Linked DNA regions of Homo sapiens: regions 1, 3 and 4 are each linked to region 2. The links are contacts of gene promoters, found by promoter capture Hi-C in blood cells and fetal thymus (Javierre and others, 2016). All regions are on one chromosome and are shown on one strand. The core of a region is centred on a gene start or on the middle of the fragment in contact, and the rest is flanking DNA. Distances in the headings are between cores, read along the strand shown. Region 1 has its middle 220 kb from the start of RAB38. Region 2 holds the start of CTSC (cathepsin C). Region 3 overlaps GRM5 (glutamate metabotropic receptor 5). Region 4 has its middle 160 kb from the start of RAB38.

Evidence for each region. Contacts are between HindIII fragments. The CHiCAGO score rates a contact against its expected background, and 5 or more counts as called.
Region 1: a fragment that was not itself captured here is called in contact with the fragment with the promoter of CTSC in region 2 in 1 of 17 cell types (megakaryocytes); the score reaches 7.1 in megakaryocytes.
Region 3: a contact is called between a fragment that was not itself captured here and the fragment with the promoter of CTSC in region 2, in 1 of 17 cell types (non-activated CD4 T cells). The highest score is 5.3, in non-activated CD4 T cells.
Region 4: a contact is called between a fragment that was not itself captured here and the fragment with the promoter of CTSC in region 2, in 5 of 17 cell types (total CD4 T cells, M2 macrophages, megakaryocytes and 2 more). The highest score is 5.3, in total CD4 T cells.

Annotation. Positions count from the first base shown.
Region 1 is chr11:87,955,470-87,958,169 of GRCh38, forward strand. It overlaps a transcript of RAB38 not described here. Among named protein-coding and RNA genes, the nearest start is that of RAB38, 220 kb to the right of the region's middle. The HindIII fragment of the contact is 827 bases long and covers 932-1,758 here.
Region 2 is chr11:88,336,373-88,339,072 of GRCh38, forward strand. It overlaps CTSC (cathepsin C), which reads right to left and starts at 1,364. Exons shown (of 7, transcript NM_001814.6): 1 at 1,129-1,364. The coding sequence starts at 1,300. It overlaps LOC101929174 (a long non-coding RNA gene), which reads left to right and starts at 1,512. Exons shown (of 5, transcript NR_188511.1): 1 at 1,512-1,684. RefSeq lists an enhancer at 1,080-1,359. The HindIII fragment of the contact is 10,462 bases long and covers 1-2,635 here.
Region 3 is chr11:88,832,352-88,835,366 of GRCh38, forward strand. The region is part of intron 3 of GRM5 (glutamate metabotropic receptor 5); the gene reads right to left. Among named protein-coding and RNA genes, the nearest start is that of GRM5, 230 kb to the right of the region's middle. The HindIII fragment of the contact is 1,307 bases long and covers 782-2,088 here.
Region 4 is chr11:88,011,797-88,014,496 of GRCh38, forward strand. It overlaps a transcript of RAB38 not described here. Among named protein-coding and RNA genes, the nearest start is that of RAB38, 160 kb to the right of the region's middle. The HindIII fragment of the contact is 1,252 bases long and covers 704-1,955 here.

The DNA of each region.
Region 1 (2,700 bases), core at 95-2,594, 380 kb before region 2:
TAACGAACCTGCACATGTACTTCCTGAATCTAAAATAAAAGTTAAAATTATTTAAAGTATCAGTAGACAATATGACTTATCCTATAGACTCTTTTGTTTAACGAAGCCTAAAGCTATTGTATAAAGCCCGTAGCTAACTATAAGCCAAACTTAAATGAATAAAATAAGCACAACATTTAGCTCTTATATCTATCAATCATCTATCTATCAATCAATCTTTCTATCATCTGTCAATCATCCATTGAGCTAGGCATTCATGAGGCTTCAGATGACCCCTGTCATCCGAAAGTGAATATTTTCTATAAAATATTGGTTTTCTAGGTCACCGTTTTCACACTGTGGGGTCATGCCTCATAACTCATTAGTGAGTGATAAAATCAATATAATGGGTAGCAAACAGTATGCACACACACACACACACACACACACACACACAAGTAGGACAGAATAGAAAATATTGTATTTTCTCTTAACAAGACATGTCAAAAGAGAAAATGCAATTTTATAAAACTCTTGCTTCAGTACATTAGCAGACATAAAAAACTAAGTGCTAAACCAAAAATGTTTAAAAGTCTCCGTTCTACAGTATGGTTCATATATTTTCTGAGCTAATAAAATAATTTTTAAAAACAAACATACATACATACATGCATATACCTTGTAACTGTAAGTAAGTAAATTATTTAACTTATCTGAAAATATTTACTTGTAAGTAAATATCAACGATACAAAGTCATGATAAAGGACTATTATGAAGAATAAAATGAGAACATGTTGCACAAGTCCCTCAAACTACATCCAGCAAATAGCAAATAAATTGTAGCTATTGTTCTTATTATAAAATTACACAGAGCATAACACTAGAATCAAAAAGTTGTGAGAAGAACAAAAATATCCTTTAGTCATCTGCATTGGAGACCACTCACATGCAAGCTTAAATTCTTGGGTCCTCGCCTCTTCACTATTCTCTGCTGCAGAGATTTGCTTAGCACAGGCTTCTATCACCTGCACCATGGCCTCCCACTCCTGCCCCATGGTCTCTCAGATGCCATAGTAGGAGATGTCTGTAGAAACCAAACGGCAGGATAATTAACCCCTACGTGTCCAACCTTGTCCACTGGGGTCTGGGAACTAATTAATAATTTGTGGGAGCTCAGAACATGATATGTGAAAACATGGCACTCAGCAATTGAAAAAGCTACAGGAGCTAGAAGGTCACTCTGACCACCCCCACTTTTCTGTATAAAGCATAGTTATAAAACATTTTTTTTAATCTACCTTAACTGAAAGTAAGTCATAAGACCCGCATTCCAGAGGAGTACTGCACCAAACCTGGAGAGAAGGAATGATACACAGAGAAGCCAAGAAGAATTTGAACCTTTCAGGGCCTTTCTGGGTTCCCTCCCCCCACCTTCAGTTTATTATCATGAAGTTTCACCCTGTTTTTTGTACACTGACATTTCTACAGGACTGTCCATTCCTCATTGAACCTAAGTATAAAAATGCAGTTTTTTGGGGGGGGGTCCTTGAGTCCTCATTTCCGAACGCTCTCATGTCACATAAAACATTGTTAAATCAATTGGCTGTGCTTTTCTCTTATGAATCTGTCTATTGTTATAGCACTGTAAGTAATAACTTACAGTGGGTGAGGAAAAATATTTACTTTTTCACTCCCACAAATTGATTCCCCCTTTGTCCCTTAGGTGGTCAGTTCCAAGATTCATGTCACAAGTTTCCTTAAAAGTTCTCTCTGAATCAAGCTTCTTTGCCTGTCACAGTAGACAATGGGATCATACATATTTGGATTGCCTTTCTCTACTTCCTGCTTCTCTCCCCTCACCCCCCATAGGGGCAATAAGGTAATAACTTTTTCTCATCCGTCATAAGGGTCACGGATGACAGTCCTGTAACAAAAGACAGATTAACAGAAAAAAAAACCCATAAGTTTATTTAACCAGGGTTTTATGTGACCCCCATACCCAGGGAAAACTGTGTGCTTTTATTCTAAGTCTGATGAAAAAAGTGAAAAGTTGTGAAGAAGCATGATTGGACAAAGAAAGTAGAATCTAATAGTAATCAACTGCGAGGAGACCAAGCAAGGCCTACTTGTTCAGATTATTCTTGGGCTCTCTATGTGGCATTCCTCTCTCAGCATATGGGGCAGGAACTCTAGAACAAGACCCTCATGACCTGCTTTCAGGGAAGGTAGGCCAGAGAGTGACGTTTCTAGGTTTTATGGTTCACTTTGAGGGAGAGGAGTTCTAACTTCTATAATCTGAGGTGGGGAGAAAAATTCTTGACACATCTTGGGGGAGCGTGGGGAAAGGAAGAAGGGAGAGCATGAGAAGGTCAGAGTGACCTTTCTTCTAAGGCCTACCAATCTCCTTCCTAACGAAATACTCAGCATGCCATGACACCATATTTTGGGATATCGTGTTCTGATCCCTGATATGCTCATTTCTCTTCCCTAGAATCACTTTCCAAATATCACTTTCCAAATAAAGCACAGCTGGTCCCAGACTTACAATGATTCGACTTACGATTTTTGACTTTATGATGGTTTGAAAGCCATATGCATTCTGTAAAAACTGTACTTCAAATTTTGAATTTTGATCTCTTCCCAGGCTAGCAATATACTGTACTCTACTCTTTGTCACTGGCAGCCACTGCCCCCAGTCAGCCAAGCAATTACAAGGGCAA
Region 2 (2,700 bases), core at 114-2,613:
ACTAAAAATACAAAATATTAGCCGGGCGTGGTGGCATGTGCCCGTAATCCTAGCTACTCGGGAGACTGAGGCAGGAGAATCGCTTAAACCCGGGAGGCGGAGGTTGCAGTGAGCCGAGATCCCGCCACTGAACTACAGCCTGGGTGACAGAGCAAGACTCCATTCTCAAAAAAAAAAAAAAAAAAGTTACAATGTTCAGGATTATGAAATGCTATACAGTCAGTTAAAAAGGTATTTCTTTAGTAACAAATGACTTAATCTTTGTTCTGTTGACAAGAAAATTATAGCTGATTTTTTACTGACTCTGCAGAAGTCACAGGCTGTAAGAGGGTTTGGGTAGACCACAGTGTGACTCTTCTAACTAGTGATTGTCTTTTTTCCACCCCACCCCCTTCACTAGGTTCTTTGTTCTAGGGGTAACCATGTTATCTGAAGGCATATGGAATATCTCCAGTATGTTCAAACACTAGGTATTTATTGAGAGCCTTCCATGAGCCAAACATTGTGCAGACTCTGGGCATTTCTAATTACTAGGTTCAGAGTTAAGTTTTCTTTGTTATTAATTTTTTAAAAAATTTTTACCTCCTTGCAATGCATGAAACAATGCAGAGTGGTACTAGCCGTTTTCTAGTACTCATCAACACCCGCTCAAACCAAAATCGCTGGGCAGAAAGTCCCTTTCCCACCATCTAACAAAAAGAGAAAACTTCATGCTATATCCTCGAGAGTCTCTGAGCTCATCTATCTTCACTAGTAAAATAGTAATAAAAAATAAAAATAAATTTTAAAAATAACGCTACCAGATCGGACTGGAGAACCAAACGATTGCAGTTCCCAAGTCTCTCTCAAAGCAAACAAAATTAAGCGGGAGGAATAAAAAAGTTCTTGATCAAAGTGTTGAGTCCCCAAGATAACCAAGAAAGTGTGGAGTTAGAAGTTCTCAGCAGATGAACTTTAACTTCGCGAGCCTGGCGGGGAAGAAGGTCCCCAAGGGTCCCCGAATCCAGTCAAGATGCTCTGGCCACCCACAAGCGTCTGCCTGGGGGGAAGCGGTAGTTGGCGTGGCGCTGCGTTAGGGGCTCAAGGGCAGAAAGGACGACCCGGAGGACTGCCGAGCCGGCGGCTTACCCATAACCGAGCAGTTGACATCGCGCTGGGAACCGCTGGAGCCCACCTGGAAGACCCAGGTGCCCAGCAGGTCAAGATAGGTGCAGTTGGCAGGTGTGTCGCAGCGCACGGCGCCGTCGCCGGAGAGAAGCAGCAGGAGGGCGGCGAGCAGCAAGGAGGGCCCAGCACCCATGCTGCAGGGAGCTGAGAAAAGAGGTGAAGAATTACCAGGAAGCCGAGCGCTGCGGGCTAGCGGTGAGTCCACCACGAGGCGCGCGCCTTGAAATAGCTACGCCGGCCCGGAAACCCGTGGGCGGGGTCACTGAGCAGCAGGGGATTGGGGGTTGGGCGCCAGGCGCGTGCGCGTCTCTGAAACGGGGACTTGGGAGCGCGCGCTGCCCCTCACTTGGCTGCAACTGGACCCAGAACTAGGGAAGAGGCCAGGGACAGATTTTTTTTTTTTATTTTTATTTTTTTTGCCGAGGGACGTTTCAAAATTTTGCACGGCCAGGGTGACAAAAAGAGGATTTAAGAGCCACAAGCGGTCCGCACATGACCCAGACTTCGTTCCTGTGCGGTAACGTAGGGAGAGAAGGAAAGGGTGTGGGGGGAATAAGGGAGTGGGTCAGGTGAAAGAGCGCGACAGAGGGAGAGATCTAGCAAGTGGAGTTCTGTTTTACTTGCTATTCTTCCCCTTTAGTCTTTTTTCTCAGGTCCACTTGCCTCATAACCAACTTCTTGTTTTTTCCTCTGAAAAACTTCGCTAGCTAACATCAACTATTCCAGCTGTTTGAGAACTTATCTTCCTTCCGTTTTCCAACTCTTCCTACTTTTTTATGTGCTTGATTTTGTTTTGTTTCCTGGTAAATGCTGTTTGCCTGTTTGCATTCAGCAGAATTCAGTTTTTGTGCAAACCTGCAGTTTTGATGTATTAGCGTTGTGGGGGTTTTCCCTCTGGCACGCACACACATGGCGCTCTCAGAGATGATATTGCTCAACCCCTTTTATGTTACAGAGGAAAAGCAAGAGGCCCAGAGAGAGGAAGCGGCTTGCCCAGGGTGAGAAGGGTGAGGAAGGAAGCTAGCCAATGGGAGAAGGCTGGTCTTATGAACCGTTCTAGTGTGTCAGTCTGATCGCCAAAAATTATTAGGTGGCACTATTTCCAGGTGCCTCCTTGCTCAGTTTAAGTATCACCCTTTTCCGTAAGAGCCTCCCGTTCTTTCCTGGCTTTTGTTGGTAATTGGGGCTCCTTTCTCCCACTGAGCCTACTAGGTGTCAGGCCCTGTGGACACAGTGATGAACAAGACAGACCTGATGTGTCCCCGTTTTCTTTGGGATATGAATTTTTGCCCCCTTTGCACTGGTCACAAATCAATATTCATATGTCCATTTTTTTTCCACCAGATTATAAACATTCAAAGAGAGCAGGTCCAAATTATTCACTTATATCTCCCTAGATTCTGGTTTATTCAGAAAGTGTCCTTGAGTGTTAAAATAAGTGTACTTAATATTCTTATCTTGGTTGCCAAGCTTGAAAGCCAGTTTCAATGAGGCAAAAGGAGTTGTCCTTGAAAGTTCAGAGGTGAAAATACT
Region 3 (3,015 bases), core at 185-2,684, 500 kb after region 2:
AGAAGGCAATCCCAATTACAATGGCTATTAAAAAAATCTATAAGTATACTTAGCCAAGGAAGCAAAAGACCTTTACAAAGAAAACTACAAAATTCTGATGAAAGAAATTTAAGAGAACTTAATTGAATATGAAGACATCCCGTATTCATAGATTGAAAGAATTAACATTGTTACAATGACCATACTGCTCAAAGCAATCTACAGATTCCATGTAATTCCTTTAAAAATACCAATAATATTCTTCACAGAAAAAGAAAAAAAAATCTTAAAATTTATATGGAATCAAAAAAGAGCTTGAAAAACCAAAGCAATCCTAAGTAATAACAACAAAGCTGGAGACATCACACTACCTGACTTTAAAATATATTACAAGAATATAGTGACCAAAACAATATGGTATGATAGGAAAAATGGTACATAGACCAACAGAACAGAATAGAGAACCCAGAAATAAATCCATGCGTTTTTTATCCAAATGATTTTTGGAAAAGTTGTCAAGAATATTCAATGAGGAAAGAACATCCTTTTCAATAAATAGTGCTGGGAGTATTTGATATCCATATGCAGAAGACAGAAACAGGACCCCTAACTCTCATGATATATAAAAACATCTTAAATGGATTAAAGACTCAAAGTAAGACCCCAAACTATAAAACTACTAAAAGAAAACATAGAGGAAACACTTGAGGACATTGGGCTAGGCAAAGATTTTATAGCTAAGACCTAAAAAACACAGACAACAAAAACAAAAATAAACAAATGGGATTGTTTTAAACCAAAAAGCTTCTGTACAGTGAAGAACATAATCAACAGAGTGAAGAGATAACCTGTTGAATGGAAGAAAATATTTGCACAATGTTTCATCTGACAAGAGAGTAATATTTAGTATATACAAGGAACTTAACAGCTTAAAAAAAAAACTAACTCCCGCTGCCCCCCCAAAATACAAATAATTGCATGAAAAATTGGGCAAAAGACATGAACAGACATTTCTCAAAGACGTATAAATGGCCGACAGGTACATGAAGGAATGCTCCACATCAATAAGCACCAGGGAAATGTAAGTCAAAACCACAGTGAGGTATCATCACCCCAGTTAGAATGGCTATTATTAAAAAGACAAAAAATAAAAGATGCTGGCCAGAATGCAAAGAAAAGGGAAAGACAATATTGGTAAAATTATACAGACACTATGGAAAACAGTATAAAGGTTTCTCAAAAAAGAAAAAATAAAACTATCGTATGATCAGCAATTCTAATACTAGGTATGTATCTGAAGAAAAGGAAATCAGTAGGTCAAAGAGACATTTGCACCTCCATGTTTATTACAGCACTATTCACAAAAGCAAGATATGAAATAAATCTAAGTATCCATCAATGGATTAATTGTTAAGAAATGTGGTATATGTAAACACAATGAAATACTATTAGCGCATAACAAATAATGAAATCATGTCATTTTTAGCAACATGGATGAAACTGGTGTTCATTATGTTAAGTTAAATAAGCCAGGCACAGAAAGACAAATATTACATGTTCTCACTCACATATGTGGGACCAAAAAAAAGGTTTTCGCATGGAAGTGGATACCAGAGGCTGAGAAGGGTGTGTACATGGGTAGGGCGTAAATAAGAGAGGTTGGTTAATGGGTAAAAACAATTGTACAATTAGATAGAAGAAAAACATTCTAATGTTTGTTAGCTGAGTAGACTATCATTAACAAAAATATATTGTTTGTTCTAAAATATCTATAAGAGAGAACTTGATATGTTCCCAACACATAGAAATGATAAATACGTGAGGTGATGGATACTGTAAATACCCTAACCCTAACATGATCATTACTCATTCTGACTGTAAAAAAAAATCATGTGTACCCCATACATATGTACAAATATGTATCCATGACAAAAGCAATTTAAAAAATTACTTTTTGTAAAAAAATTGCCAAATATTTTTTTAAAGTAAAATTAAGTAAGAAAACAGATTTTGGCATGTACAAAAAGGTAAATTGAGAGAATCTCTATAAATCATCTTGAAGCATAAAGACTTGTATTCATGACTTGCTAAGCTATTAGAAAACAATAAAGCTTTAAAATATTCTGAACTAATGACTGAATGATATCTAATCAATATTCACTTTATCACCTGGCAAGTCTAATAATATGAAGTCAGAGTACTGAAGAAACTACATCTATTTTCCCTGCCTTTGAAAGGAAATAAAACCTACGAAGGCTTCCTTTAAAACAGCACGTGTCCAAGAATGTATCTGGTCTTCCTTGTCTCACCACTTTACTAATAATTTGACTTTTCCTAATCCAAGTGATTGATTAGTTGAATGCATGTTTAAGCCTCATAGAAAGTGCTCATTTCTTCAGACGTGATTTGCAAAGGCCAGAAATTCACCATTCAGTAAGAAAAGCTATGAAATAGACCTGTCATAAACTCATGGGGAGGGTGTCCTAGGGAGTCACCTCTGTTCTCCACCAGGAGACTTTTAGCTGGCTTACTTGCAGAGAAACATATATTTAGTCTACTTTTTCGATTTTAGGGTGTGAGAATCCTGCCTTTTACTTAGGCTGACTGAGTTGAAGAGAACCGTTTTTCTGCCTCTCTATTACTGCCATTTTTCCCCCCCTGCAGTTTCAGCCACTCTAAAATATCTACAATGTGTTAGGTATGAAAGGTATGAAGATTTATAAACCTTTACCCACACTTTCAAGGAGCTTATATTCTAGTGTAAGAGGGAAAAGAAGAAAACAGAAAAATAAAAATGAAAAGTTCCAGGGATATTTAAGGGGTCTGTGGAAGTCTTACTGGAGTTCAGGATATCTTCCAAACTGCCTGGAAATGTCTTACGTGATAAACCTGATACATAAACCTGAGTATATAGGTAAAAGACAGGGAAGTAATTCCAGGGACAAAACAGTGTAGGTTACACTGTAAGCTAGATATGTTCAGAGAATTGTAATCATTTTGAGATAGAATAGGTGAAGATACAGCAGTGGGAAGGTG
Region 4 (2,700 bases), core at 80-2,579, 320 kb before region 2:
TGTTTCCAAGTCAGACAGTAGGTAAGCAGCACATCTGGGACTCAGGTATAGGCCTCCATAACTCCAAATCCTTTGTTCTTAATTAGTAAGGCACACTGTCTTTTGAGTGAGAGATTTTGCTTTGAGACTTTTGCTCCATTCGTGTTGTTCTGCTTTGCCAGATTAAAGCTACCATGGGGCACACTCACTCTCTCTATATCCCTTCCTTAAGTTGTCTCAAACAGTGTGACATTCACCTGAGAGATGGGACAGGAGATTCCCACCTTAATCCTGGCCTGCCATGAGTGGGGTCCAGTCACTGGTAGAGTCACTTTTGCTCTCTGGGCCTCATCAGATTTTCAATCTGGTCACCAAGAGTCATGGCACCGGTGAGGAGAAATGTTTAGACTGTGACCTACTGATTAATGAAGCTGACGATCACACAGCCACCAGAAGCTTCTCACTCTTCAATTGAAGCAGGTAAAGACAGAGTCACTGTACTGTTCAGATACTTGGAAGGACACTGGAGGAAGTAACTTTCAGCATTTGTGTCAGGACATAAGGCCAGCAGCAGGAAAAGACACCACACTGGAAGGGAAGACACTGGGACCAGGATTGTTGGTAAGTAACGGGGAGGAAGACGGTGGGAACCAAGCACGGAAGGAGTATATGGAACTTACTGGATTATTTTTCCTAATAAAGTTTCTATTAAAAAATAGTTTTAAGCTTGAACAGCTAGCATACCTGGTAGCATATTTTTCTGGCTTCTGGGTGGGGACTAGAGTGAAGAAGAATTATCAACAATTAACAAGGCTCCCAAAAGCCATCTGTGCCCTTTGTCTTGTGAACAGCTCTTAACACAGAAATTACATGCTCAGCAAATTACAACCAACCAGGTAGGACAGCAATAAGCCTCTGAAAAGCTCCTTTGTACTGGGGAAAGAGGATTATTCCTCAATTATATTTAGTCAAACTCCTCCACTATACTTCCTGTCCTTCCTCAATGTCCCAGTGGGTGCTTGAACAAATAAGCCGAATCTGATAATAGTAGTGTTCCTTTACTACACTAGTGGAAAAAATTGATTTTTAAAAAAGCTCAAATGTAACTTCTTACTCAGCATACACAATTTAAAAAGAATTTCAAACAAAGGACTACGTGTACAGAAAGTATTGTGTTACAAAGAGGGTCCACTCTGAACTCCCAAAGCACACACATCTCAGGGTGCTCTGGGCCTGTTTTCTCATGTGCAAAATGAGATGGTTGTCCCAGAAAAATCTCATCCTTATGGTTCTTTCCAGGTCTGACATTCTGTAGGGATAGTAATACATTAAAGTTTATTTATCTCAAAAGGCCTGTAGGTAATAAACTTTCACTAAATACCAAAAATAATACAGAATGAAACTTTAATAGTTATCTAATCTCAGATACCTTGGAGAATATAAATTAGGAACAGGCATAGAAAATTGGAACAAAGAAATAACAGCCTTGATATTAATTGTCTTGCTTATCTGTCTAAAGCAGGGCTGAGGAACATATTTTGTTTGTTTTAGTTCATCAATTTCTTTTGTTCAGAGTAAGTATATGTTCAACAGAATAGAAGTGAATGCCGTTTTATTTTCTACTAATAACATCCAAGGATGTGACTTCATGATTGCTTTTTTGTTTTTGTTTTTTTTTGCCATTTAGAATGACTGGAACAAAAGGAAAATAACCAATTGAGAATGACTAATAGCATAAAAAGCAATGCTGAGATTTTGTTCTAGCTGATTCAAAATCTGAAGATTTGGAGATTTATGCTTGCCTGAAAAATGCTGCAGTGAAACACTAAGAGCCCAGAACACTTAGGATGACAAACTGTGAAATCACTCAAAGAAGGACTCATCAGCAGGTGCTAGGACCGAGATGGATAAAAAGAAAGATGCATAGGCCAAGTCCTATTATTCACACCTTCTAGAGTTTATGGTTTACTAATGAAAGCTTCTTGCATTAACCCTGGCCTGCAAAAACCCAGGACTGGAATGAAATGGCTATTTTTCAAGGCCATGCAATATAATTGATTGAAAGCAGACATACTGACATTAAAATCAATAGCACAGTAAAGAGCACATCGCAGTACCCTTTACATATTGCTACATAGTTCCTGCTCAATAAATAATACCAGAATAGCAGCAGCAGCAGCAGCACTAGTGGTAAAAGCAGTCATATTAGAAGTGGTGACCGTAGCAGTAGCTATTATTGTTATGGTATTAAGTGGGAGATAGAAGACAAGTGCACTACTAGGGACAATCTCCTCTTCCCCTCTTGCTCTCCAGTATCAAATAGTCAAGAATAATGGGAACTTTAGTAGGAGAAATAAACGGATTTATAATCTGTATGCCAGGTCTTAATGCAGTTACTTATATATACTGTCTTATTTCTATACTCCATATGGTAGGTAGTTTCAACTGCATGTTACGGATGAGGAAACAGGGTCAGGGAGTTGAAAAAATTTCTGCAAATTCACACAGTTGCTAAGTGGAGCAAATTAGGATGCAAAGCCTGATATGCCTGGTCTCAACCCATCATAGTGTCCCTTATCTGTATATCCTAAAATTTCAAGGACAGAATGACCCCGGTCTGTTACTTGTTTTACAATACAACAAGGCTATTTGGTAGGTATTATTATCCTAATTTAAGAGACCAGAAAAATGAAGTTCTGACTGGCAAAATGACTTTCTCAA